5 separate regions of the Homo sapiens genome follow, and all the other regions are linked to region 5. Evidence: promoter capture Hi-C in 16 types of primary human blood cells and fetal thymus (Javierre and others, 2016). All regions are on one chromosome and are shown on one strand. Each heading gives the region's core, a stretch centred on a gene start or on the middle of the fragment in contact. The rest is flanking DNA. Distances are from core to core; before and after follow the strand shown.

What was found. Contacts are between HindIII fragments. The CHiCAGO score rates a contact against its expected background, and 5 or more counts as called.
Region 1: a contact is called between a fragment that was not itself captured here and the fragment with the promoter of SLIT1-AS1 in region 5, in 1 of 17 cell types (naive B cells). The highest score is 5.2, in naive B cells.
Region 2: a contact is called between a fragment that was not itself captured here and the fragment with the promoter of SLIT1-AS1 in region 5, in 1 of 17 cell types (erythroblasts). The highest score is 5.8, in erythroblasts.
Region 3: a fragment that was not itself captured here is called in contact with the fragment with the promoter of SLIT1-AS1 in region 5 in 1 of 17 cell types (erythroblasts); the score reaches 5.5 in erythroblasts.
Region 4: a contact is called between a fragment that was not itself captured here and the fragment with the promoter of SLIT1-AS1 in region 5, in 2 of 17 cell types (erythroblasts and naive B cells). The highest score is 5.7, in erythroblasts.

Annotation. Positions count from the first base shown.
Region 1 is chr10:96,381,279-96,386,595 of GRCh38, forward strand. It overlaps TLL2 (tolloid like 2), which reads right to left. Exons shown (of 21, transcript NM_012465.4): 15 at 4,777-4,937; 16 at 3,309-3,489. Among named protein-coding and RNA genes, the nearest start is that of OPALIN, 25 kb to the left of the region's middle. The HindIII fragment of the contact is 4,209 bases long and covers 459-4,667 here.
Region 2 is chr10:96,427,710-96,432,705 of GRCh38, forward strand. It overlaps TLL2 (tolloid like 2), which reads right to left. Exons shown (of 21, transcript NM_012465.4): 5 at 922-1,039. Among named protein-coding and RNA genes, the nearest start is that of OPALIN, 71 kb to the left of the region's middle. The HindIII fragment of the contact is 717 bases long and covers 950-1,666 here.
Region 3 is chr10:96,363,124-96,368,645 of GRCh38, forward strand. It overlaps TLL2 (tolloid like 2), which reads right to left. Exons shown (of 21, transcript NM_012465.4): 21 at 1,485-5,099. The coding sequence ends at 4,965. Among named protein-coding and RNA genes, the nearest start is that of OPALIN, 6.9 kb to the left of the region's middle. The HindIII fragment of the contact is 327 bases long and covers 2,084-2,410 here.
Region 4 is chr10:96,403,062-96,408,631 of GRCh38, forward strand. It overlaps TLL2 (tolloid like 2), which reads right to left. Exons shown (of 21, transcript NM_012465.4): 10 at 2,171-2,273. Among named protein-coding and RNA genes, the nearest start is that of OPALIN, 47 kb to the left of the region's middle. The HindIII fragment of the contact is 784 bases long and covers 1,224-2,007 here.
Region 5 is chr10:97,099,193-97,104,318 of GRCh38, forward strand. SLIT1-AS1 (SLIT1 antisense RNA 1) reads left to right here and starts at 3,564. Exons shown (of 3, transcript NR_038330.1): 1 at 3,564-3,918; 2 at 4,128-4,299; 3 at 4,394-4,555. The region is part of intron 4 of SLIT1 (slit guidance ligand 1); the gene reads right to left. RefSeq lists enhancers at 1,209-2,073, 2,074-2,936. The HindIII fragment of the contact is 6,968 bases long and covers 1-4,314 here.

The DNA of each region.
Region 1 (5,317 bases), core at 1,313-3,812, 720 kb before region 5:
AGGCTTCCCCTGCTCAAGAACCTGCAAACAGTCCCCCTTCCTGTTTCATCGGGTCCCTACTCTTCAGCCCAGCGTTTAAGGTCCCTCATGACCTGGCCTTCTCCAACTTGGCCCATCTCGTGCCCTTGGCTTCCCAGCATGGGTCAGGGCTCCATGCAGGCCCATCTCATCTCTGTCTCTGTGCTCTGTTGAGAACTTAACCTGTGCTCACACTGCCTCCCCTACTGGGGACCCTGATTACTTTCTCTCTAATCATCCTATCTCCACCTCCATGTCTTCCATCCTTTAAAACCTGGCTTAGACCACCCCAAATCCTGCAAAAAGTCTTCACCCACTGCTCCAGGCAACCATGGGCTTCTCTTCTTCAAACATTAGCCCTTGTTGCACCAGCCCACCCCACAGTGCTCCAGGCTGGGACTTAGCAGGGTGTGTATTCCTGGCTCCCTAGCTGGCATGTAAGCTTGTCCAGGGTTGGGGTCATTTCCCTGGCAGCAGCTCTGAGCCTAGTAGTGTACTGTGCCCACAGCAGACACTCAAAACAAAAAACATGACTTGCTCAGTGAGAGACTGCCAAAAAAAAAATGCATGGAGATGGAACTCTGGGTATCTATAAAATCAACAAATAATTGGGTCATTTCTATGCCAAGCATTAAGACTATAAAGATAACCAAAGTACAGTTCCTGCTTGTAAACAGTTCACCCTCTAATATGACGTGACATGCAGGACCTGCTACACAGTTTGCAAGGCTCAGTGCAAGATTTGCACTTTGTTGAAACACTATTATGAATTTCTTTCTTTTTTTTTTTGAGACGGCATCTTGCTCTGTCACCCAACCTCTGCCTCCCTGGCTCAAGCGATTCTCCTGCCTCAGCCTCCCGAGTAGCTGGGACTACACATGCGCCAGCGCGCCCAGCTTATTTTTTGCATTTTTAGTAGAGACGGGGTTTCACCACGTTGGGCAGGATGGTCTCGATCTCTTGACCTCGTGATCCACCCGCCTTGGCCTCCCAAAGTGCTGGAATTACAGGCATGAGCCACCATGCCCGGCCATGAATTTCAAGATGATGACAACAGAACCTTAAATTAGTGTGGGCCCTTCCGAGAACAGGCTCTGTGCTATTGCACAGGCCACAGGCCCATGGAGCTGGCCCCTGGTGACAAGAGCCCTAATGGAAGGGAAGGAGAGAGTGCTATGGGAACACTGGTAAAAGAACAATCAATGTGCTAAGAGGGTGCTACGGTTTGAATGGGTCCCCCAAAGTTCATGTGTTATAAACTTAATCCCCAATGCAACAGTGTTGAGAGATGAGGCCCTTAAATGTGATTAGGTCATGAGAGCTCATTATTGCAGGAGTGGCGTCCTGACAAAGGATGAGTTTGACCCCCTTGCCGCTCTTTCTCACCCATGTGGTGCCTTTCACCTTGTTATGACACAGCAAGAAGGCATTTGCCAGATGTTCCCCCTTGATTTTGGACTTCCCAGCCTCCAGATTCATAAGCCAAATACATTTCTGTTCACTATAAATTACCTAGTCTGTGGTACTCTGTCATAGCAGCACAAAATGGACTAAGATAGAGGAATAAGACGAAGCCAGACAAAATGGACTAAGATAGAGGAATAAGACGAAGCCAGAGAATGTTACAGAAAGTGGCATTGTGGGTCTTCAGGTTGAAGTAGGAGTTTCCTAAGGAGGGAGGGAAGAAGGATATTCCAGGGAGAGGGAACGCCACAGGCAGAGGGTATGAAGACAGAATGGGATGGGGGTTTAGGAGTAGAAGGTGATGGTGTGGGGGAACAGTGGGGGGATTATTCGTGATCAGAGCACAGGGCACCTGCAGAGGGAATGTGGCTGGCAGAACAGGTGGGCCAAGGCAGTGTCCAGCACCACATGCCACGCTAAGGAGAATGGGCTTTTTCTACAGCTGCTGTACTGGCCCTGAGGGTTCATGGCCTTCAGTTTGAGAAGTAGGGTCCAATGTGCTGCTGTAGTGGGTTTAGTAGTGTCTTCCCAAAATTCCTGTTCATGTGTGATATGGTTTGGCAGTGTCCCTACCCAAATCTCATCTTGAATTGTAGCTCCCATAATTCCCACGTGTTGTGGGAGGAACCCGGTGGGAGAGAATTGAATCATGGAGGCGGTTTCCCCCATACTGTTCTTGTGGTGGTGAATAAGTCTCACGAGATCTGATGATTTTATAAGGGGTTTCCCCCTTCACTTGGCTCTCATTCTGTATTGTCTGCAGCCATGTAAGACATGCCTTTGCCTTCTGCCATGATTGTGAGGCCTCCCCAGCCATGTGAAACTGTAAGTCCATTAAACCTCTTTTTCTTCATTTTTTATTTTTTATTTTTTGCCCCGAGATGGAGTCTTGCTCTGTCACCCAGGCTGGAATGCCATGGCACCATCTTGGCTCACTGCAACCTCCACCTCCTGTGTTCAAGCGATTCTCCTGCTTCAGCCTCACGAGTAGCTGGGATTACAGGCACACACCACCACGCCCGGCTAATTTTTTTTTTTTTTTTTGTATTTTTAGTAGAGACGGCGTTTCACCATGTTGGCCAGGCTGGTCTAGAACTCCTGACCTAGTGATCTGCCCGCCTCGGCCTCCCAAAGTGCTGGGATTACAGGCATGAGCCACCACGCCCGGCCTAAACCTCTTTTTCTTTATCAATTACTCAGTCTCAGGTATGTTGTGAAAACAGACTAATACAATGTGGAACCTTAGAATGTGATCTTACTTGGAAATAGTGTCTCTGCAGAACTATTAGTTAAGAATCTTGAGATGAAATCATCTTGGATTTAGGATCAACCCTAAATCCAATGACTGGAGTCCTTCTAGGAAAAGGAGGGGACACAGAGACCCAGAGAAGAAGGAAGGGCATGTGAAGATGGAGACAGAGATCAGGATGATGCAGCTACAAGGCAAGGAATGCCAAGGACTGCTGGGAGCCACCACAGGCTAGGAAGAGGCAGGGAGGGATTCTACCCTAGAACTTTCCGAGGCAGCATGGCCCTGCGAACACCTGGATTTTGGAATTCTGGCCCCCAGAACTGTAAGAATAAGATTCTGTTGTGTTAAACCAACCAGTTTGTGGTAATTTGTTATGGCAGCCCTAGGAAACTAACACAGCCACCAATAGATATATAAAAGCCCTGGATCTGGCACGCCCCCTCCAAGGCAGCCATACCTGGAGGGATGCAGGAGCAAGCAAAGAGAGAGAGGAGGGGGCCAGGGACCCCAGAGCCTGGAGTCTGCAAAGCCGCCTCACTCGCGCTGCATCAGCCTCACCTCTGAACCCGCATACCTGAGAAGAAGTGGGCCCTGAAGCCGCGCTTGGAGACGGTGTTGTCGGACTTGAACTCCACGCGCATGTTGTTGCTCTGCGAGGTGATGACCTCCGGCGTCTCAGAGCCGCAGAACCTGCCGTGCAGCTTGGCGTCGGGGGACAGGCCGCTGCGCACCTCTACAAAGTCGTACTTACAGACCTGCAAGGGAGCATGATGGGGAGCTTCCCAGAGTCCCTGTCCCCACCCCAGACCCCCAGCACACTGCTGCACCTGCTTCCTGAGCGCCTCACCCTACCGTGTGTGGCGGGGGAGGGTCCCTTGACTCTTGCTACGCCGGTTATTTGAATGAGCTCCAGAGGGCACAGGGGGACCCCTGGCTCTCCCACTGAGGCTCTGTGGGGGTGCCATCGCCTGGCACAAGAGCACAGGGCTCCCAAACCTGCATCCCCGTAATTGTAGCCTTGCTTTAATTTATTTTATATATTAGGCTTCCACATGAAATTTTACTTGAAGAAAGGGCCCCACTGCTAGAAGGAGAAGAAAAATAAGGAGAAGAGGATGAGGGAGAAGCAAGAGGAAGAGGAGGAGGAAAATCCTGCAAACCACCGACAGAATCTGACTCCATTTTCAGGCAGGGAAACAAGCTCAGAGGGGGAAAGACATTTGTCTGAAGTCACATAGCTCAGCAGTGGTGGAGCTAGGACTAGAATTCATGTTCCTTGCTGTAGCAATGATTTTTCTCAAAAAGAACTTCACTGCTAAGGGGTCTTATCAATTGCTTTCAAGGATTATTTTTTTCTGCACAATATTCACTTTGGGGTGACACCCTCATGGGCGCCATGGCCTCCATGCATTGGGGTCATCAGCATTGAGGTCTCCTTCCAGTACCCCAAAGGCCTGATCAGGTGAGAGCTACACCAGTACTATTCTCAAGGTGAGACCCCCAGCTCAGCTGGGGTGGGGAGGGGAGTCTCAGGAATGGCTTGTGTGCCCCAGGGTGTCCTTCCAGCCTAAGGTGCAGACGTAGGCATGCCTGACTAGCACTCCAGCTGTAGGGTGCTGCCTGGACCTCAACTGACTTGATCATCCATGATCACTGCCCGAAAGAGGAAACAGGCTGTCTGTAGCATCCTTGTCCCTAGCTGATTCTCACCCCCTTTATTCGCCTCAGCTGCACACCAGCTCCCCAGACTCACAGCCCAGTCCTGACACCTCCCACCCCCAATATCTGCCTCTTCCACTCTTGTCCTGATTCTCCTTGGATGTATCAGCGACAAGAGGGCCGGAGGTGCTCTATCTGCAGAGGGCGTGCGGCTGAAACTGCTGGAGAAAACATTCCCCCAGATTCTGCTAGCGCAGGTCCTAAGACTGTCCAAAGCTTCAGTCAACACAAGCCATCTCCCTGCCCTCCCAGCCCCTCACTGGTTTCCAGCTCTGAGTCACCCCTCAATACAGTCCCCAATCAATTAGAGCATGGAGACATACGTCATTGCCTTCCAGTTCAAACACTTCAAACTGAAGGGAGATCCGGTACTGAGCGGGGGCCACCACCTGCCAGACACAGTTTTTGTTTGTGGGATACTCCTTCGGCCACCCAGGGCTGGTGATGGTTCCATTCAGCTTGGTAATGAAACCGCCACAGGCCACTGCACGGGGGAAACAGAAACAGGATTCATTTGGCTTTGGCTCCAGGTGACTGTGATTTCCCACCAGGAGCAATAGAGCCTTGCTGTTCTGTAATAATTTTAAAATGTTAGACAATTTGAACTGATTAATTCAGTGTCCTTTGTTCAAAACTAATGGTTTCAACTGAATATTTGAAGGAACAAAATTGGGGATAAATCTTTACTGCTTTTAAAAACAATGAATGCATTTGTGCTTTCCTTTCACCCAGTGGCAGAGCTGGGGGCTCCCTATGGCTTGGGCCAAAGGAGAATTAGAAATGTTTGCAGCAAGCTACTCACCATACCAAGCTTGCATGAACAAGCGGATTCATGCACGTGGACAAGGAAGATGGAACACAAGC
Region 2 (4,996 bases), core at 58-2,557, 670 kb before region 5:
TAAACCTCTCTAGGTTGTTTTATTCAGTAATCATCTTATGTATAGACCATGTAGTTGGGTTTGGTTTTTTTTGTTGTTGTTGTTTTGTTTTGTTTTCTTTCTGAGATGCAGTTTTGCTCTTGTTGCCCAGGCTGGAGTGCAATGGCGGGATCTCGGCTCACTGCAATCTCTGCCTCCCAGCTCCAAGCGATTCTCCTGTCTCAGCCTCCCAGGTAGCTGGGATTACAGGCATGTGCCACCACACCTGGCTAATTTTGTATTTTTAGTAGAGATGGGGTTTCACCATTGTTGGTCAGGCTGGTCTGGAACTCCCGACCTAAGGTGATCTGCCCACCTCAGCCTCCCAAACTGCTGGGATTACAGGCGTGACTCACCGCTCCTGGCCGGGTTTGGGTTTTTGATCCAACATGAGAAGCTTTTCAGTAGGAAAGTATATCATACATATTTATTGACATAACAGATAACTTTAGTCATAAGCCAGTCATTTTATTACATATTATGTTTTCTGAAGGAAGTTTGTAAACCTGTAGAATCCCTCAAATTAAATGCAAAATTTTACATACATATTCATCTATTCTTGAAGAAGGAAAGCCCACCGCTTCATCAGATTCTAAATGGGGACACAAACCCCAAGAGGTTAAGAACCACTGCCTTAAGTCTTCACATGACACACCACCAGTTCCTTCTGTTGCTCTTCTAGTGCCAGTACCCCTGGTCTTCATGGAGTCTCCTGGAATCTTCCTCTTGGCCCATCAGCTTTGCCACTGGATTGTAATTTCACCAAGGGCAGAAAGTTTCTAGCAAACCCTGGACTCCTCTAAATAACAGCTCATTGGAAATACTTAGGTTTACAGAGAAAATTCAACACTCATGAGCCATCCGACTGATTCTGCAGAGGTGGCCTCGCTTTCGTTTACTTACCCACAGGTTCTGTAACTGAATACAATAAAGCTTTCCTCATCCGTCCTTTCTATGAAGGTCACACAGGTGTGCTTCTCCCAGTGTCTCATGGCCTGCTTAAAAATGGCCCTCTGGCTCCCTGAAACAACAGGGCAAGCACTCGACTTCAATGATGGGTCCATATTTTCTTTAGATGCTTTTTTTTTTCTTTCAAGACGGAGTTTTGCCTTTGTTGCCCAGGCTGGAGTGCAATAGTGCGATCTCGGCTCACTGCAACTTCTGCCTCCTGGGTTCAAGCGATTCTCCTGCCTCAGCCTCCCCAGTAGCTGAAATTATAGGCATGTGCCACCACGCCCGGCTAATTTTGTATTTTTAGTAGAGATGGGGTTTCTCCATGTTGGTCAGGCTAGTCTTGACTCCTGACCTCAGGTGATCCGCCAGCCTCAGCCTCCCAAAGTGCTGGGATTACATGCATGAGCCACGGCACCCAGCCTCCTTAGATGCTTTAAAGCATGCTGAGTTAAGACAAAGGATGTTCCAACAATTAAAAAAAAAGATTGTTAATAATACTGTATTGTTTACTTGAAATTTGATAAAAGAACAGATTTTGTGTCCTCACCAGCCCCCAATGTAAGCATGGGTGGTGATGGATGTGCTAATTAATTTGATTATGGTGATCGAGACATAATATATCAAATCTTCATGTTGTATACCTTGAATATATACAATTTTTATTTGTCAATTAAATATTTTCAAAAAAAAAAAAAGCTTGTTCAGAATAGAAATACTCCAGGAATTTTCAGGAATCAGGATTTCCCTTGCTAAAAACACAACGTAACTTTTCTGAGCTGCCAAAACCTAGAGAGTAGGAGTTTGTGGATTGGAAGGGAGGGTAAAAATAGATTTTCAAAATATCCTGGGCTTCCCAAATTTTCCTTTGTATTGAAAGTATTTTCCAAACTTTTACAAAACCTTATCCAGGTTTTTCGATTTGGAAACTGCAGGCTTTTGAAGTAGGGGGGAGTCAACTCCAGCTCACCAGCACTGCACTTCGCCCCCTCATTTTCTTTTAGACCTGTAGGGGGGTGCTCCCATGCACTTTAAAATTTCTATTTGCATGTACATCTGTGTACTTTTGCACGGGGTTTCAGTGTCTTGTGGGGAATCCTTGAGCCTAATTTTTCTTCCAGGCCTTTGAAAATAGGTGAACTTCATACTTTCTCTGAACCTGTCTTGGTATTTCCTTGAGTGGAAATTTGCTGAATAATAAAACTCCAGGCTGACAGTTACGTATAGTCAGTCAGTTCTTTTCAAAATCTAGAAGGAAGACTGTTTAAATTTTCCTAGAAGCAATGAGAAGGATCTAGGAAAAAATAGTTGTCTGGGAAGTATGAAGGATGGTGGGAGTTGGAGGTCTGAGTTCTACAGGGCCCTCATTGCAAAACAAAAACAAAAATTACAAGCAAAACAAAACAGCTGACATCACTTGGATGTTTGTCCCCTTCAGATCTCGTTTTGAAACATAATCCCAGTGTTGGAGGTGGGCCTGGTGGGAGGTGTTTGGGTCATGGGGATGGGTCCCTCAAGAAGGGCTTAGTGCCATCCCCTTGGTGAATGAGCTCTCGCTCTGAGTTCATGAGAGATTTGGTTGTTTAAAAGTGTGTGGTACCTACCCCACCTCTCTCTTGCTCCCTCCCACCATGTGATGTTCTGGCTTCCTGTTGCCTTCCGCCATGATTGCAAGCTTCCTGAGGCCTCACCAGGAGCAGATATGCTGCCACCATGCTTCTCAGACAGCCTACAGAGCCGTGAGCCAAAACAAACTTCTTTTCCTTAGAAACTACCCAGCCTCAGGTATTCCTTTAGAGCAACACAAATGGACTAGCACAACAGCACTGGGGGAGGCTCCCATCATTGTCTGCAGGATGTGGGGATGGTATCATATTGTTGTCCCCAAAAACATTCATATAGAATAAAGAATAACAGCTGGGCATGGTGATTCATGTCTGTAATCCCAGCACTTTGGAAGGCCAAGGCAGGTGGATCCCTTAAGCTCAGGAGTTTGAGACCAGCCTGGGCAACATGGTGAAACCCTGTCTCTACAAACACTTAAGAAGAAAAAATTAGCTGGGCTTGGTGGCACACGCCTGTAGTCTCAGCTACTCAGGAGGCTGAAGTGGGAGGATCGCTTGAGCCTGGAAGGTTGAGGCTGCAGTGAGACGTGATCATGCCACTGCACTGCAGCCTGGGCAACAGAGTAAGACCCTGTCTCAAAAAAATAAAAGAAAGAAAGAAGAAACAAACAACAACAACAAAAAATAGAATAACTTAACTGTCCATTTTTTTTCTGACATCTTGACATTTTTTGTTCAAATTGTTTATAGCTCAATCGCTCACCAAAAATAGCAACCCTACTAATTATCTAATAACATGAAATACTTGTGTCAACAAAATTCCTATATATAAAATTAGTTAACTTTGATGAAAGTAATATAAATCTTTGGTCAGAAAAGCACACCAGATCTGAAAGAACACAGTTAGGATACCAAGGAACAAAAGTCTGTAGTGGTTTATAATTTCTATTTTTTTTCTTTAGGCACTCACCTTTCTCTGCTGTGAGAACAGACCTCCTTGAAGGCAGGATGAAATCTTAGTCATCTTTTTTACCACCAATCCCTAATTAAGCACCTGGCACTAGGAAGCCGTGGGTTAATGCTGCGGGAGCGAAAGGGAACTGCAGGAATTCCGCTGCCCTGCTGCTGAGGTCTTCACCGTTCCCTAACTTACTCATCAGCGATTCTCAGTGGCTTTGGCAAATCCTCAGGGAATCTGCCTTCATCAGCCACCTCTCAGAGTAGAGGTCACAGAGCCACAGGGAGGGGAAGGACTTATAAGTTGCACTGAGAGCCCAGGAAAGTCTCTCGGTATGGCTTGTCACTCAGGCTTTCCATTGACATTGGCCGCAGGTACGCAGTGGGCATATTTGCTACCTGCCTAGGATGTGCCGCGCCCTGCTCTAGGTGTTGGAGATACGGAAGCAGAAATGAGACAGAAAAAAGACTGCTGCTCCCACAGAGCTTAGACAGAGACAAAAATAAATGAAACAGAAATAGAAGTAAAGAGTTCAGGTCACGGTAAGTGCTGCCAATGTTATAAAGCAGGGTCTGGGGACAGGGAGGCGCTGGTGGGGGGAGGGCAGAAGGCCTTCCTGTGATGTGTCCCTTGACATAAGACTCAAATGATAAGAAGAAGACAGCCATGCAAAGACCTGGGGAAAGGGCCTCCAAGGGAGACAGAAGGCAAGTTCAAGTGTGAGTGCTCAGGGGCCTATGAGGGGGGCACGTCTTGGGATGGGCACATGGCTGGTGAGGCCAGAGCTTAGGGATGAAGGATGGGAGAAGGGTAGAGAGGGTCAAAGGCCAGGCAGGAGAGGGACAGTGGGGTACTTGAGGGAGGGCATTACAGGCCCATGGTCAGGAATTTCATTCTAGTGGCAATGGGAAGCTGGGGATGATTCACATATTTTAAAGATAATATTAATATCAGATACATACTAATTACTGTGTGCCAGGCACCACTCTAAGCGCTTTATCTATAGTAACCCATTTGATTCTCAAAACAACCAGATGGGGTAGAAGATATTATCATCCCCATTTACAGAAGAGGGAACTGAGGCACAGAGAGGCTAATTTCCCCAGGGCATTTTGCTGGCAAGTGCTGGAGCTGAGATTTGGACCCAGGGAGTCGAGCCATGTCCACTGGTCCCTTTGGTCACTGAGTGGAACACTGCTTGTAGGTGGTGGCAGGGGACCTCTGAGTCCAGGACGCTCATCCAGGCAGAGGACAGGGAAGCCAACCATGTGCAGTTGCTCAGGGACTTTCTTCTATGCGGAGGGCTTGTCCTCAAACAGTCATCATGCAAACCCCACTTATCCGTCAAGGTCCTTCCAGGTCACTCCCCACATGAAGCATCGGGGAGCAAGGTAACCAACTTTGAGGACATAGCTCCAACAGAGACTGCAATTTCCCCAGGACTGGTGGGCCAGGACTTGCCGGCAAGAGGGGGGCATCATCTGTAGGCCTGCTGTGGTCCCTA
Region 3 (5,522 bases), core at 997-3,496, 740 kb before region 5:
GGACATCCATGTGACTTGCTGTGATCAATGAAATGAGTAGAAGTAATATATCATTTCCAGGTAGTTTTAAGAGCCAGTGTGTCATGTGCCACCCTTTCTTTCCCTGTATTATAAAACCCAGCAATGTTCTGATGCTGCTGCTTCATCAGCCTGGTCCTGACTGAGGATGATATGGAAGAGTTTCCAGATGACCAGAAATGAATGTGTAGTGTGGACAAGAAATAAATCTTATATAAAGCCCCTGAGATTTGGGGGATAGTTGTTGCAGCATAAGCTAGCCCATGCTGACTGATATACCAGCATTCATGCCCTTGCACCACTGGGACTCACCGTTAGCTATAGAAGATAAACCTTGCTGAAGATCTATAGCCTGCTTTCTTTCTTTCTGTCTGTCTTTCTTTCTGTCTTTCTTCTCTTTCTTTCCTTTCTTTCTTTCTTCCTTTCTTTCTCCTTTTTTGTTCTTTCTTCTTTCATTCTTTCTTTTTCTTTGTCTCTTTTTCTCTTTCTTTCTTTTTCTCTCTTTTTCTATCATCTATCTATCTACCTATCTACCTATATCATCTATTTATCATCTATCAATTATTTATCTATCAACTCTATGTAATTGGTGACTGCAAATGGGCAGAAAAGTCAAAATCTTGAGACTATGTATAGCACAAAACAACTGCATGTGTTAAAGGATTTTGCACTGAGAGCAATCTGAGTGCTTCTAAAAACACAGTTGTATAATTACCGTTCTGTAATATAACCCACAAAACTCCAAACATACCCCAAAGCCTCTTCATCTAATCAACCTGAAGAGGGTGTCCCTTATCAGATGGAGTCCCTGTCTTTGTGTTAGAAATAACCCTGTATCAGTCAGGTTCCCTGCAGGAGACAAGTAATGTACACTCATTACTACATTTGAAAAGTGTTTATTAAAATGACTACCTATAAAGGTTTCCCTTGAGGGAAGTGCAGTACCCCAAGGTTAGACAAGCAGGGTGTCATTACCACCCCTAAGCCTGAAGTGGAAAGTGGAAGGAGGAACTTCCAGGGCCCCCAGTGGGGAGGCCTGGAACACTCCCAGTAGTGTTCACCTACTGGGAGCCATAACCTTCAGTCTCGGGTGTCAGATGTAGTCCTCAGACAAATGTCCAGATAGAGGAGGGTGGCGATGGGAGCTGAGGGGCAAATGGAAGATGTCTACCACATCTGGATGGTTTCGGCAGCAGACATCTTCACAATTAGGTTGTAAGATTTTCAGCTTGTTTTGGTGTAAGAAAGGGAACAAATTTGAAAGCCATCTTTAGCTTTGCTCATGACTTTCTGGGTCCATTAGTGAACTCTGTTCTGGAGTACTTGGATACTAACCAGAGAGTGGAAGGCTGTAGAGAAGGGCCCCCTTTTAGTACTCTCTCCCAAGCTCTTGTGATATTGGAGAAAATTAGCACTAAAAGGACCCATCTGGTCTGAATTAGCAATACAAACCCAAGACACATCAATAAATCCACATTCTTTAATGAAACCATCCGTTCTAGGTAGAGACATATGTTAGGTCCTCTCCACTTTCTCTTTGAAACTGACATCATTTCATGAAATGTAAAATTACACAAAATAAAAAATACCCATATGTTTACATATAATACTTTAAACAATTTTCCTTTTTAAAAATAAAATTTTAGGCATTTGGTATTACTCTTCAGAAGTTCGGTCTACAAAAGAAACTTTAAAAACATCTGCTAAAGCCAAGGGAACATTTGTTCACAAATGGAACGCTAACAATACCAATCTGAAAGCTATCAAAGGGACCCAATCAATAGAAAATCTCAATGTGAATTTGCTAGTTAGCAGGATTTTACAAATTATTTAAATCAGCTGAGCAATTCATGAGTGATATGAAACTTTACAGCAGGGGTGTCCCATCTTTTGGCTTCCCTGGGCCACATTGGAAGAAGAATTATCTTGGGCCACACATAAAATACACTAACGATAGCTGACGAGAAAAAAAAAAATCACAGAAAGAATCTTACAATGTTTTTTAAAAAGTTTACGAATTTGTGTCGGGCCATATTCAAAGCCGTCCTGGGCCAAGGGTTGGACAAGCTTGCTTTAGAGAGAAATTGTAAAGTAGAAATAAAAAGGAAACTTCACCTTACAGGTAAATACCTCTAAATATTTACCTTAGAGGAAAATAGAGGGAATAGTGGATCAATGAACAGCCTCTCTTTCTCTGTTTGAAGAAATTCCACTGGCTAAAGTTAATTCCAGATTTTTTCCTGCCCTGCAATCCAGGCTTAGCTTTTGCTAGACCGGGTTACACCAGAACGGAGCCAGGCTAAAAACCCAGACCCCAAATCCTTCATTAGCCTGTTGTCCTAAGACAATTCTCTGAACTAAAACTATTCTTGCAACTCACTGTCATCCCCAAAGCTTGGTACCCAATTAAAGCACAAAGCAGGCTGCAGTGATATCTTCTACCTCTGCTGTTTGCTTCTGGGGATGCTTGCAGGCAGGTCACTGATAATTGGAAGCACCAAGGCAGAGGCCTGGGACTTTCTGCTGAATGGACTCTCTCTAGTGAAGCCAGCCTCTAGTTTCTTTGCAAGAACCTGTGTCATGCCTAAGTCCCCACAAGTGTGGGCTTCCAGAGGAGCGGCCCAGCTAGCCCCAGCTGAATCAGAGCTTCTCTTTTCTGTGGATACGTCACACAGAAGGCCTAAATAAAGGTTTTTCATAAGAGTCCCATTGTTGCAAATTGGCCATATGGTGACAATTGTTGAAGCTGTGTGTTTTTGAAAATGTTCATACTAAAGAGATAAAAAGAAGTATCATTGTTTCACCGTCCTGCTGAGCAGCACCAACTCTGTTTCTGACTCCCTCCCACTTTTCTATGAAATTTGTTAATCTTGCTTAGACTTCTAAAGGTTAAAACTGCAGAATTTTTATTTCCTTGGAGAAAGAACCATAACACCCATCTTAGGTTTCCCAGTTCCAGTTTCAACTCTCATAGACAAGATGAGACCAAATAAAACCTCAGAAAATACAAAAATCAGATAAATGGAATCTACCCTAACAGGCAGGTGGGATTGGAGCCATGAGGTCAGCTGCTCCATTTGCTGTATCAAAGCGCACGCTGGGCAGGGTCTGCCATATGCACAATATGAGCGTGTAGGCTGAGCCTCAGTCCAGGGCCGAGAAAGGCCAAAACAGAGCTTGGTGAAAGGAGAGGCAGGAAATGGAGAGCCAGTCCTGCAGGGCCCACAGTAAAGCGAGGACCAGGGGTTGGCATTTTCCACACTGCATTGATTAAGGCTTTGACAGCTGATCTTTTACATACATACATATATACAGACATATATTATTAATAATACTTTAATTTTTTTCTGTTTTAAGGAAAAAATATTCCCATGCATTTCTCTGACCTTTCTTTGTATCATTCTAGTTTTTGCTCCCAGCAATCACTTTAATGAGACACAGTCCTCTGGTGCCACATTCTGATCTGTAAAAAATATAACCTTTCACCTTTTACATATACTTTGTTTAAAATGATGCTGATTCATCCCAAAGGAATTCCGGTGCATGGGAGCTATCTTGGCTCTAACCAAAAACACTCATGTGCCGCCCTGCGTCCAACAACAACCAAACAGGACTTACAGTTATGTAAACATTATTTAAAAATTATTCCAACATAAATACTCTTTTAAAGCTAACATACCACAGCTTTTAGCTCATAATGCCCATAGATGCCTTAATGAAATGCCATTCAAAACTACCTCACTGTTTAAATTATACCTTGAGGTGCTAAAATTATGTAAACATCATCCTCTACACTTCTCTAGAACAAGTGCCAAGTGTTATGAATTCTGTTTGCAAGTTGGTGATTGAATACTAGTTAATCAGAGCAAAGTTACCAACGCACTCTTTAACCTGATTGGCTACAGGAAGCTAGTCACTGATTGACTTGTTCCACAAGGCGATGATTCTTACATAACTTATAATTAACCAGTCTTCAACAGTGTTCACCCCATAAGGGACCTGAATTGGTCCCTCATAAGAGGTCTTTGCACATTTTGCAAATGCAGTTTGAATTGGATGTCAAGGAGTCCAGGTGTGCCACGGCAAGTGCCTCCAAAGCTAAAAGAAGAAATGTTCTTTGAAGCCCATGGAATTCCAAGCACAGGTGGAGTCTTCTCAAAGTCAATGAATGAAAAAAATATCAGGACGAGCCACAATATTGTCTTCTCAGCAGACAGGACTCTCGCCAGCAAATGTTCTGCTGTATTCATAATGGATGCCTTAGCCCCCACTGCAATTAGGGAGGGGGGGAAACCAAAGGGACAAGGAGAGTGAATGACTCTGAGAAATGGCTTTGTGGTCTCCTAACTTCATGACAATGATTCTTATACTCGAAACTCCCTCTGTGCTCACTGCTCACTGTGATGCCTTTTTTTAGTCCTGACATCCATCCATATTTTCAGGTTTCTTGGTTGACATGTCCCTGGCAGAGAGAAAGAAAATGATTCCAGCCAAAGCTGTGGGCCACACATTAGTCTCGGCCAAGTTTTCATCCCTTATGCCCAACATGGACAGAAGACAGCCTGGCACCTTTGCAAGCAAGTCCAGATTAGAGGAACGGCCAACCCCAAGGCTGACCTTTTGCCACATAGGAGCAAGGGACAAGGAGAATGGTATGAAGAAGCATAGCCGGAATGGTCAGTGACTTCAATCCTAATCTTTAACACTTTAACAGTTCATGAATGATAACATTGCAGACAGAAGCAAAAGAACATTTTTCTCTCCACCTTGTTGGCCAAACTTACAAGACTTTCATTCAAATATATACCTCTAAGGCTGGATTCTGAGTTTTTGTTTGAGAAAAATACTGTACACTGTTTTAGGGCAGATTTTCAAGGTGCTATTGTTGTTAAAAACAAAACAAAACAAAAAAAATTCTCAGTTTCTGTCTTTCAAGAACATCAGCACTATTTCTTCATGTGCAGGGCATCCTGGAACTTGGTGCTGGTGTATCGGGCATGAAAGCCTTTCTTGTTGATGGTGTCATCTGTGCGGAATCGAATCATCAGGGAATCACCTGCAGAGTAGATTTCTTCTAATGGCTGAGGAAAGGAGAAAGGGAAACGAGAAGGACTTTAGCTGTGATTGGAGTTGAAAATGAGGAGGATGGGACAGGATCTTATGCAAGGACACAGGATGTGTCTCTGGTACCAGAGACTCTGAAGGGCATCCAAACAAGCTCCTTTTCAAAAGAAAACATTGCAAATTCTGCTCCAGGGAGCTTTGCAGGCCCTGCTCTTCCAAAGATGATCCTAGGTGCATAGCTCATATAGAATCTATTATTTATTAAGTATGCAGGTGGGTCAGGTGCTGCACTAGGCAATTCCAGATCTTATGTAAACTTTACAGCAACCTTATAAGGCAGGTACTATCCCCATTTTTCACTTCAGGAAACTGAGACTCAAGTTCTCGCAGGTAGGCGGGACCCAAGCTTAGGTCCTTCTGACAGTAAAGGATGCACCATG
Region 4 (5,570 bases), core at 366-2,865, 700 kb before region 5:
GCCCACCCTACAGACCCCTCTACGAGTGAGGACAATACACTCTCAGCTGAGACCCTCCCATCTGGCTCCTGGTCACTTCTGCCTGTCTCACCAGCTCCACCACGGCTGCCATTCCTGGGCTGAATGAGTCCTAGTGTCTACTCCCGAGACACTGCAGCCACTGGTCCTCTAGGCAAGGCTAACCTCCCCTGTCATCCACGAGAGATGTAGGGAAAAGAAAGAGAGATCAGACTGTTACTGTGTCTATGTAGAAAGGGAAGACATAAGAGACTCCATTTTGGAAAAGACCTGTACTTTAAACAATTGCTTTGCTGAGATGTTGTTAATTTGTAGCTTTGCCCCAGACACTTTGCCCCAGCTACTTTGACCCAACCTGGAGCTCACAAAAACATGTGTTGTATGAAATCGAGGTTTAAGGGATCTAGGGCTGCGCAGGACATGCCTTGTTAACAAAATGTTTACAAGCAGTATACTTGGTAAAAGTCATCGCCATTCTCTAGTCTCAATAAACCAAGGGCACAGTGCACCTCTGCCCTTGAAAGCGGGGTATTGTCTCCCCATGTGATAGTCTGAAATATGGCCTCGTGGGATGAGAAAGACCTGACCGTCCCCCAGCCCGACACCCGTAAAGGGTCTGTGCTGAGGTGGATTAGTAAAAGAGGAAAGCCTCTTGCAGTTGAGATAGAGGAAGACCACTGTCCCCTGCCTGCCCCTGGGAACTGAATGTCTCGGTATAAAACCCGATTGTACATTTGTTCAATTCTGAGATAGGAGAAAAACTGCCCTGTGGTGGGAGGCAAGATATGTTTGCAGCAATGCTGCCTTGTTATTCTTTACTCCACTGAGATATTTGGGTGGAGAGAAACATAAATCTGGCCTACGTGCACATCCAGGCATAGTACCTTCCCTTGAACTTAATTATGACATAGATTCTTTTGCTCACATGTTTGTTGCTGACCTTCTCCTTATTATCACCCTGCTCTCCTACTACATTCCTTTTTGCTGAAATAATGAAAATAATAATCAATAAAAACTGAGTGAACTCAGAGACCGGTGCCGATGCAGGTCCTTGGTGTGCTGAGTGCCGGTCCCCTGGGCCCACTGTTGTTTCTCTATACTTTGTCTCTGTGTCTTATTTCTTTTCTCAGTCTCTCATCCCACCTGACTAGAAATACCCACAGGTGTGGAGGGGCAGGCCACCCCTTCATCTCTGGGGTGAACTAAGCTTTCTTGTTACACCACCTGCCCACTGTGTCTCACTCAAAGCTCTAAGCTAACTTTCCATGGGTGAGTTCATGCCCTGTTCATCTCACCAAAACAATACACGCTCATCATAGAAAAACTGGAAAATATAGCTAAACCAAGAACAACAGAATACATTTAAAAAATACTCTATCACCCTGAAATAACCAGTGTGTTATTTATGTATATTTATAATTTTACTTGAGATTTATATTGCAGATCACAAAGTGGTGTCTTCTAGTTAATTCAGCCTGTACACATGTTTTAAGTCATTTTGGTTTGAATAATTTTGGACACGATATTTGGTGTTCAGTTCACCACACTCCCCCCACCACTCCTTATTTTATTACACAAATCCCATCTCCTTCATTTACATGTTATCCTTGAAGCCATCTACATTTGCAATGCCTGCATTATATATATATATATAAAATGCATAAATGTATTTTTTAATCAAAATGGAATCCTACTGCTTATTCTATTTTTGTCACATACTTTTTTGTGTGTAACAGTGTACCATGAACACCTTTCCATATCAGTAGTCAACTACAACTTCATTTTTAATGGCTGGGAAGTTTTCCATTAAAAAGATGGATCATAATTTATTCAGCCAAACCCTACTGTTGAACATTTAAATTGCTTGCAATTTTTCCTGCTTCAGTGAACATCCCTGTAGCTAGAGCTTTGCACACTTCCTTAATTAGTTCCCTAGGATGAATTCCAAAAAGTGGAATTGCTGGGTCAAAGGGTATTCGCAGTTTTAAAAGCTTTTAACATGTGTGGCCAAATGGAGTGCTCAGAGTTTTACAATGACAGAGGCCCTTGAGAGTTTCCTGTGACCGCTGTCAAGGTGGACCTTCCAGACATTAACAGCATCCCGGGGAACATCCCATCACTCCTCTCTTAACGGTGTCTAAAGTCAACTTACCCAAAAGGGGGGCTTTTCTCCAGTAACCATCCCGGACCTCCACGTAATCATACCAGCACAGTCGGCTTTTAAACAAATCCATGGATGTGAAGTTTAATACGATCTGTAAAGAATTACCATAAAGTGAGTTTTGGCAGCAAAGCCTGAGGAGTTTGGGAAGATATATCTTGCATACTGGTGTTCTCACGTTACCCTTTAGCATGCAGAACTTTCAGACCACGGTAGGAGTGTTGTCTCAAAAGCATGCTCACAGGAAACCTAAGGACATTAAATAATAAACCTTAAGCAGGATGGGGAGTAAACAGAAGGAGATGGGTCCTTCGGTTCTGTCTGGGGAATCACTTGAGCTTTTGAAGTCACTAGGTGGTTTACAGAAAGCGAGATGCATTAAAAAGACTGGCCAGGGCGCATGGAGACGGAGGATTTGGAAGGAGGTAAGGGGTCAGCGAAGTTCAGAGATACAAGAAGATCTTATAACATCATCAATCATTCCAAAGGGTCTGGGGTTAGCCCGAGTGCATCTGAACATCTCTGCGATCAACCTCCCCTCAGCCATGACCTCACTCTCCTGAGGTGTGGTGTGTCTAATGACCTTCCTACAGTTAGTCCATTCTTTCATTCACTCCACCATTGTTTGTTGACCACCTTCTGAGTGTCAGCCTGTGCTGGCCAATTGAGATAGAAAGATCAGTAAGACAGGGTCCTTTGCCCTTGGGGAGCCCAGAGAAGGGGGGAAAGGCAGATGGGCCAAGCCAATGAGAACACTATGGTATAAACACTGAAAAGAGAGGGATTGTCATGAGGAGCATCTTGGCAGCCCTGTCTGGACATCCCTGAGGTCAGGTAGTGGATGCTCCCATGGCCAAATAGGTGACTACTTAGTAGGGGGAAGGGGAGGGCTGGGTGGTCCCAGGGGCTGGGCCTCAGCACACAGGTGCTGTACCTGTGAACTGGCTCTGGTCCCCCTGCAGCCCACCAGCTCGGGGCTCCCCTGGCAGATGGCCCAGAGCAGAGTTCAGATTTCCCCTGGCCTTTCACCCCCACGCAAGTTCCACTAAACCAGGTGCCTGTGGCTCCTCCCACTGTCCTGAGGTGCAGTGGCTTGTCTGGCCCAGGCTCACCTTTCCTCATGCCCCACACACCTGCTCCATCACGTCTCCACTCTTCCTCATCTCCAGCCCTGACCCAGCCCCTGCACCCCTGACTCTATTCGTTTTCCAACCCCGGAGGACTTTGCTCTCAGCAGTTCCTCTCTCTCCAGCATCTCCACTCACTGCCCCTCCACTAGCCACTTCTTTATATTCAAACAGCCCCAGGGGCCCTCTAGCTCTAAGTAAACCCTTAGGCTGGAAGGCTTCCTCAAAGGTTCCCATTCCCTCCCCACCAAATCTAAAGGACTGTTATTTGGCCTTGTGCCCCATGACCCCTCTGCCCAGAGCTTATCCTTTCTGGTTTTCACCACACTGGCCTATCTTCTCCCCACTGCTCTTGCTCCTCTGCCCTTCCCGCTCCCTACTAGGTGAGAGCACCTCCAAACAAAGCATTTCCTTTCCAGCCTCCTCCACTGTAGGAGATGCCATTGCCCCGATGGTCAAGGAGCCAAGCTTTGGTATTATCTTTCCTTCATCCTTACTGTTGATCCCCCATATCTGTTCAGCATCCATGCTGCAGCTCTTTTTAAGATATCCGCATCCCTCCCCTCTAACCCCATCTCGCTCCTCCTGCCTCACCCCCTCCTGGATTGCTCCCACACGATTCCTGGACTCCTCCCTGCTGTGGCCCCATTTTTTCTACACACTGGGGCTTCTAGATCAATATTCCACTCATATCTCATGTTTACCAGACCCCTCCCAATCTTCCACCCATATATCATGTTGACCAAACCCCTCAGGAAACCTCAGTGGCTCTCTGTGCCCCCATCTCATGAATTAAATTCTGCTTACTTTCCACACCCCCAGAGCCTGTCCTGTGCAACCTGTTTCCCAGTGTTCCCTGACAGTCCCATGTCAGAGAAACCCTTCCCAGGCCTGCTCAAGTGTCCCCCTCCTCGAGCCTGTGTCTGATTGCCCTGATGAACACGATTGATCTTTGCCTCTTTGGAACGCCCCACCCTCTGTCTTATAATGATTCTAGAGCCGGTGTCTTTAGATCTACCTAGATCTGGATTTGCTTCTCAGCTCCATCTACTAGCTCTGGAGTCTTGGGGAAATACTTGCCCTCTAGTTTCCTCATCTGTAACACAATACACACATCACTGTGCTATTGAGGGGACTGTGCGAGAAACCATATATAGAGTGTATATTGCTATGCCTGGCACACCATAGGCACTCGATAAATAGCAACTTAAAATACCAGGTAGTCCACATTGAGTGTACACTTAGCATACCACAACTAACACTAACCACACCTCGCAAGCTGCCCATCTTGATTAGTGTTGAGTGCCCATCCCTTCCCTTGGGCCCATCCCACCCAATGTTTCGTCTCAGGACAAATCACATCTTCCACAAAGCCCTGCGATCTCCTAGGAAACGAAGTCAGTGCCAGGAAAAAACAGGTCAGCTCACCTTCTGTCATTGAGTGTGTGTGCGCGCACGCGTGGGTGCATGCATGTGTGAGCATGTGCATGCATGTGTGTGCGCACACGTGTGTGCGTGTGTGTGCATGTGTGTGCGCACGCTGTCACTCCTCTTTCAAACTAGACTGTGTTTTTCGACCCTACTTGCACATTAAAATCAACTTTGAAGCTTTGAAAAAGCTCATACCAAGCAAACACCCTTCCTTCCATTAAATCAGATTCCCTGGGAGTGGGGGGAGGGGGACCCAAAATAAACAGTCTTAAGACAGGGGTGTGCCTTAGATTTCTGTCCTATCCCACACCGTGCTCATATTCAGGTGGTAGAGCTTAGTAACACCTGTAAGCTGGTTGCACAATAATTCTTTAGCCTTTGCTTTTTTAAAATTACAGAAAGGAAATGTTAGTACAACTTCCTTGGTAACACATTCATGATCTGAATGAATGGGATAATTATTCAGGCTAATTATTTTAAGTACATTAGTGAACCATAAAGACCATAGGGGAAAGAGGTGGTGAACAAGAGGTGATACTCGAATCAATCAAGTTTGCTAATTACTTGCAGCTCTGGGGAAAGCTGGGTGAAGCAGAAATGGAAATAATTGGTGCAGAAATTTCAATGATGTATATTCTCTCTGTCCCCAGTTAGCACTAATAATTAAGGCTTGATGAAGTTTACACAGTTCAAACATATCACACACCCTCTGCTGTGCAGAGCAATTCAATAATTTAGAAATTACCAGACCTCTTCCTCTTCCCCCTTTCTGCCTCCCTCCTGTTAGCCTCCAGCAGGCACATGGATTTCACATCTACCCAAGGCAGACAGGT
Region 5 (5,126 bases), core at 2,314-4,813:
CGTGAGACAGGACGAAGAGAGGGGCCAGGGCTTGATGTGGGGATTCCTGGGGAAAAGGGAAGGCTGAAGTCACAGGAGGGCCTGAGATCTCAGGAAGAGTCCCAAGGAAGAGATGCAGGCAGCACAGGCACCACCGCACCAGGCTGGCCTGCCTCAGGTCGGCCACCCAGAGCAGCAGGCTCAACACAGCTGAGTGGGGCTGCAGCCACCTCGGAGTTTCTAAAAGTCAAAATTGCACAAAGAGAAAAAGACTCCAGGTTGGGGGGGTGGGGGACAGCAGGCAGTGGACAGGAGGAGAAGCTCCTGGATCTGTTGTACATCTGGGTAGGTGTCCATCTGTCTGTCTCTGGCTGCTGCTGGCTCACCTAGTGTCCATCTCTGCCTGTGGCCTGGCCCCCTTTCTCTGCATGTGTACATACGTGTGTGTCAGGTGTGCAGGGAGCGGGGTGCTTCCAGTCTTTCCTTTCACTTATCCTTTTCGAGTAAATCCAGCTTGATGGTCCCCTGCCCTGACCTAGGAGCAGGGAAAGGCAGTCCCAGAAGGAGAGGGAAGCTATGGTACCTTCTCGCCCAGGGGAGGCCAGAGACCCCGGGCAGTGCCCCCGCAGTGTCTGGTTACCATGAAATGGAATTTATACATGAAAATCAGGAGAGAAGCCAGCCCAGGGCACACTAGTCATGGCTGTGACAGAACTGACAGCTAATTAGAAGGCTCCATTTGAGCCTCACGTTGAAAAGCCATTTAATAATTAAATGTCTTATCTGTATTTAAAATCTTCTGACAATATATACTTAGAGTGTGGCCAGAGAACCAATTTTCTCACTTCCATCACCCTAGAAGACATAATATTTGAATCCAGGCATCTCCCCATTGACAATAAGTGACATGATGTCACACGATTTGAGTCAGGAAGTGTTCTAGTGTTGGAGACCCTTCCTGCTGGCTCTTGGATTGATACAGCACAGAGACTTTGACTCAGAAACATGTTTGACATGAATACGCCCCTTCCCAAGTCACTGAGCTGGGACCCGGCATGCAGGGAGTGGATGAGGGGACCATCAGCCCCGCAGGGAAGGCACAGCAGGAGTGGTTCACCTGTGTGCAGCCAGCAAGAGATGCATTGATTGTACAGCAATAATAAAATTTTTGGCCGGGTGCAGTGGCTCATGCCTGTAATCTCAACACTTTGGGAGGCCAAGGCAGGAGGATCACTTGAGGCCAGGAGTTCAAGTCCAGCCTGGCCAACATGGTGAAACGCTGTCTCTACAAAAAATACAAAAAAAAGAAAAAAAATTAGCCAGGCATGGTGGCACACACCTGTAATCCCAGCTACTCAGGAGGCTGAAGCAGGAGAATCACTTTAACCCGGGAGGCAGAGGCTGCAGTGAGCCAAGTCGCATCACTGCACTACAGCCTGGGCAACAGCGAGACTCTGTCTCAAAAAAAAAAAAATTGAAACAATAATTGTTATTCATTCATTAAAATAATGACCATAACAATAAAACCAATAATAAAAGTCAGTTCATTTTCATTAGCATCACACATCGGCAATTTTAAGGCATGTCAGTGATACAATACTGCTCCCCACCAAGGAGGGGCTCCCACTGCCACCCGTTGGTACGCCGCTGCCTCGGCCTTAGGTGACCACAAGGGCAAATGCCCTGGAAGCCACAGGGCTCCCTGGCTTGCTCAGGGAGGGGAGGAAAAGTGCTGCTGCGTATTTCTAGGGACGGTGCAGACGCAGGCCGGTTTGGGCCCCATGGGTATAGTCTGCCCACCTACAAGAGCAGAAAACAGTAAGGGAATGGACCTCTCTGTGCATCAATGAAGCTGAACCCCTTCCTGCTGGCACTGAGCCCTTAACGTTGCCAGTGTCCCCAAGGGGACTGTGGAGGCCACCCAGCACTAGGGAGGGAGAGTAAATCCCAAAGGCACATTCAGAAGCCTCGCAAGGAGACCAGATACAGGTGGAAGAGAGTCATAGGCCCCCCTGGGGACACAGATGGAGTGTCTGCAGAGGAGAATAGAGAGGGAGTCACCAGAACCAGCTTCCTGGCTCCTCTTCCTATTGGATGGAGCGCTCCTCCCCAGACAACCCAGAACACTGCTGCACTCACGCCCAGGACAACCTCTCGGGGAGCAGAAGGCTGTACTTACCTCTCCCCTCCTGGAAGCAAAACTTCTCTAGTTTCTCTTGCCAGCCAAAGAACCCCTAGTGGCGGAGTGCTCACACAAAGGAAATCAGACCCTGGGGGAATTTAAACATGAACATGTTCAACCCTCTCTTCTGGCAGATGACAAGAAAGCCCAGAGAGGTCAAGTGCCTTCTCTGGACTCACGCAGCTTGTTAGCTGGTGCTCTTCCCATCGCCCCCGCCCACCTTGCTGCTGGGAGCAATGTCGTGTCACAGAGCCATTGCAGTCAGCAGGTTATGGGTTTAGGGCCTGCCCTCCTCTGATAGCTGTGCCAGGGAGGATGTGCTGCACATGCCTCCTGGCCTCAGACAGCAGCCTGGACTGGCTATGAGCAACCAAAGCATGGCCCCTGTACCAGGCAGCACCAGCCCTGCTCTGGGGGTGGATATGAGTTTGCATGTCTGGTGTGTTGAGCCACAACGCCTCTTGAGTCACAGTCAGTAAAACTAAATATCTCTCCCATGGTCTGATCACTGTTGGGACTGGCCTGGACTATCATTAAATTCAGGAGTGTCATGGATCTTGGAAAATACTAATTGCTCCTAACCCAGCTGGGATCCTGCCCTCAGGGTGATCCCTATTTTCCTGGGATCAAATGTCACTTCTCAAAGGGTGGTCGTGGACCGGCAGGGTCAGCCTCACCTGGCAGCTTGGACGAGCAGAATCAGGCTCCTCCTGAACCTACTGAATCAGGACCTGCATTGACACAAGATCCCAGGGTGATGTAGATGCACGTTAAAACCTGTGAGGTGGCCGGGCGCGGTGGCTTACGCCTGTAATCCCAGCACTTTGGGAGGCTGAGGCAGGTAGATCACCTGAGGTCAGGAGTTCAAGACCAGCCTGGCCAACGTGGTGAAACCCTGTCTCTACTAAAAATACAAAAATTCCCAAGCATGGCGGCGAGCACCTGTAGTCCCAGCTACTTAGGAGGCTGAAGCAGGAGAGTCGCTTGAATCCAGGAGGCGGAGGTTGCAATGAGCCAAGATTGCACCATTACACTCCAGTCTGGGCAACAGAATGAGTAAGACTCCGTCAAAAAAAAAAAAAAAAGAAAGAAAGAAAGAAAAAAGAAAAAAAAAAGCTGTGAGGCACTGCGGGGAGGCACTGCAGGGACACGCAAAGGTGACAACCTTAGAGACTGCCAAAGCTCACTCTGGACACCATCAGAGGCCATCGCAGACTGTCCTTCACAGGATGTGTGTGTGACATGCTGCCATGATCACTCTGTAATAGTGTCACGGGGTGGATGGGGGAGGCCTGGCTCAGCAGCAGCTCAGGGTACTGAGTCGTAGATGACAGCAAGCTCAATGTGCACTGTTGTGTGATGTCACAGTGCAGCCACCAGGTTGGGAGACCTGCTTATATACAGTGTCCAGGGAGCACAAGGCCTGGGGGCCCACAAACCTGGGTCTGTATGCCCACTCTTCATTAGCAGCTCCAGGACCAAGTGCGGTCAGTTTTCTGGAACTCGTTTCCATATCTCCACTGTGATGTAAGGATGTGCATGGATCCTAAATGTGAGAAGCTGGCAATCACCAGGTCCCTGGCAAGTGCTCAGAGTCTGAGCTACCATCAAAATCAAGGGCACAGGGGGAAGCTAACTGCTTCTCTGAATACTCTAAGGGAGGCAGATCTAGGCCAGGTGACCAGGGTTTACAAGTCCCAGGACAGCAGGTTGGGCTTGGTGCACGGAAGAACTGATGAGCAGCTTCACTCATGCAGGTGAGACCGTATGGGCAGCTCTCCAATAGCAAGCGTTCAGCAGGGATAGGTGCGAGTACATCAGGGAGTCCAAGAGAGGGCTGGCTGCATGCCTGGGAGGGGCAATGAGATGGGGAGTCGGGTGCTTCCTCATTTCTGCTGCTGTAAGGTAACGCCACTGGCCTTCTCCAAGATCCAAACAGGGTCTCTTGCTTCCCCTCTCTTTGCAGCAGGACAGATCAGGACAAAGCCATGCTGGAGTTGGGGCCACACATCTGCTGAAAACCCCCAACACTCTTTTTCCCAGCAGCAGCTTCCAAGCAATTCCTGAGGCCCTCCCACCGGCTAACCAGAAAGGAACCCACCATTGGTCTCCTTAGTAACGACTTCCAAGGCCCCTTGGTGAGGATTTTAACAAGCTTCCAGCTCTCTCCCCAAACTGCCTAATTTTTACAACAATCAGACTCCTTTTTTCTTCTCTAAACGTTTATTTTAGCACATCTGAAAAGCGCACAGTGTGATTTCCAGACCCAAGTTAGACAGCGATTTCTTCAAAGTGCAACGCCCTCAATTAATGAACCCTCTGGGAATGAAGTACCTTCTAACAAAAACATTGTTCAAAATAAAGCTGGAAAAAAACCTCACACAGCCCCTAGGACAGAGATGTGAGTGTTGTTGCCCAGTCACAACCATGACAAGGCGATGTGGTTACACGGTAGGGTCAGAGGTAGGCAGTCTCCAGCCATTCCCAGCAGGTGACCTTGGCCAGTTACTTGACCTTCAACTTGGTTTCCTTGTCTGCAAGATGAGGATGATGACAGGCAACTCCCACGGCGGGAGTGCAGACTGCAGAACAGTCACTCATGCAGTAACTACCTGCTGAGCACCCCTGTGCATCAGGTGGCCTTGTTCCTGCGGCGGGGATACAGCAAGGAACACAGCCCTGCCCCGTGGAGCTCATATTCTGTGGGGTAGCGGGTGGAGGTGAGTACTACAGAGAAGAATCAAGCAGGTGAGGGGTAAAAGCACTGGGGGTGCCGAGTGGGAGTTACCTTTTTCTAGGTGGCAGGGAAGGCCTTTGATCAAAGACCTAAAGGAAGAAGGGAGTGAGCCCCATGGGTGTCTGGGAGAAGGAGTATTCTAGGCACAGAGAACAGTCAGTGCCAAGGTCCAGAAGCAGGAATATGCTTAGTGTTCATGGAAAAGCAAGGAGTCCAGGGTCGCTGGAG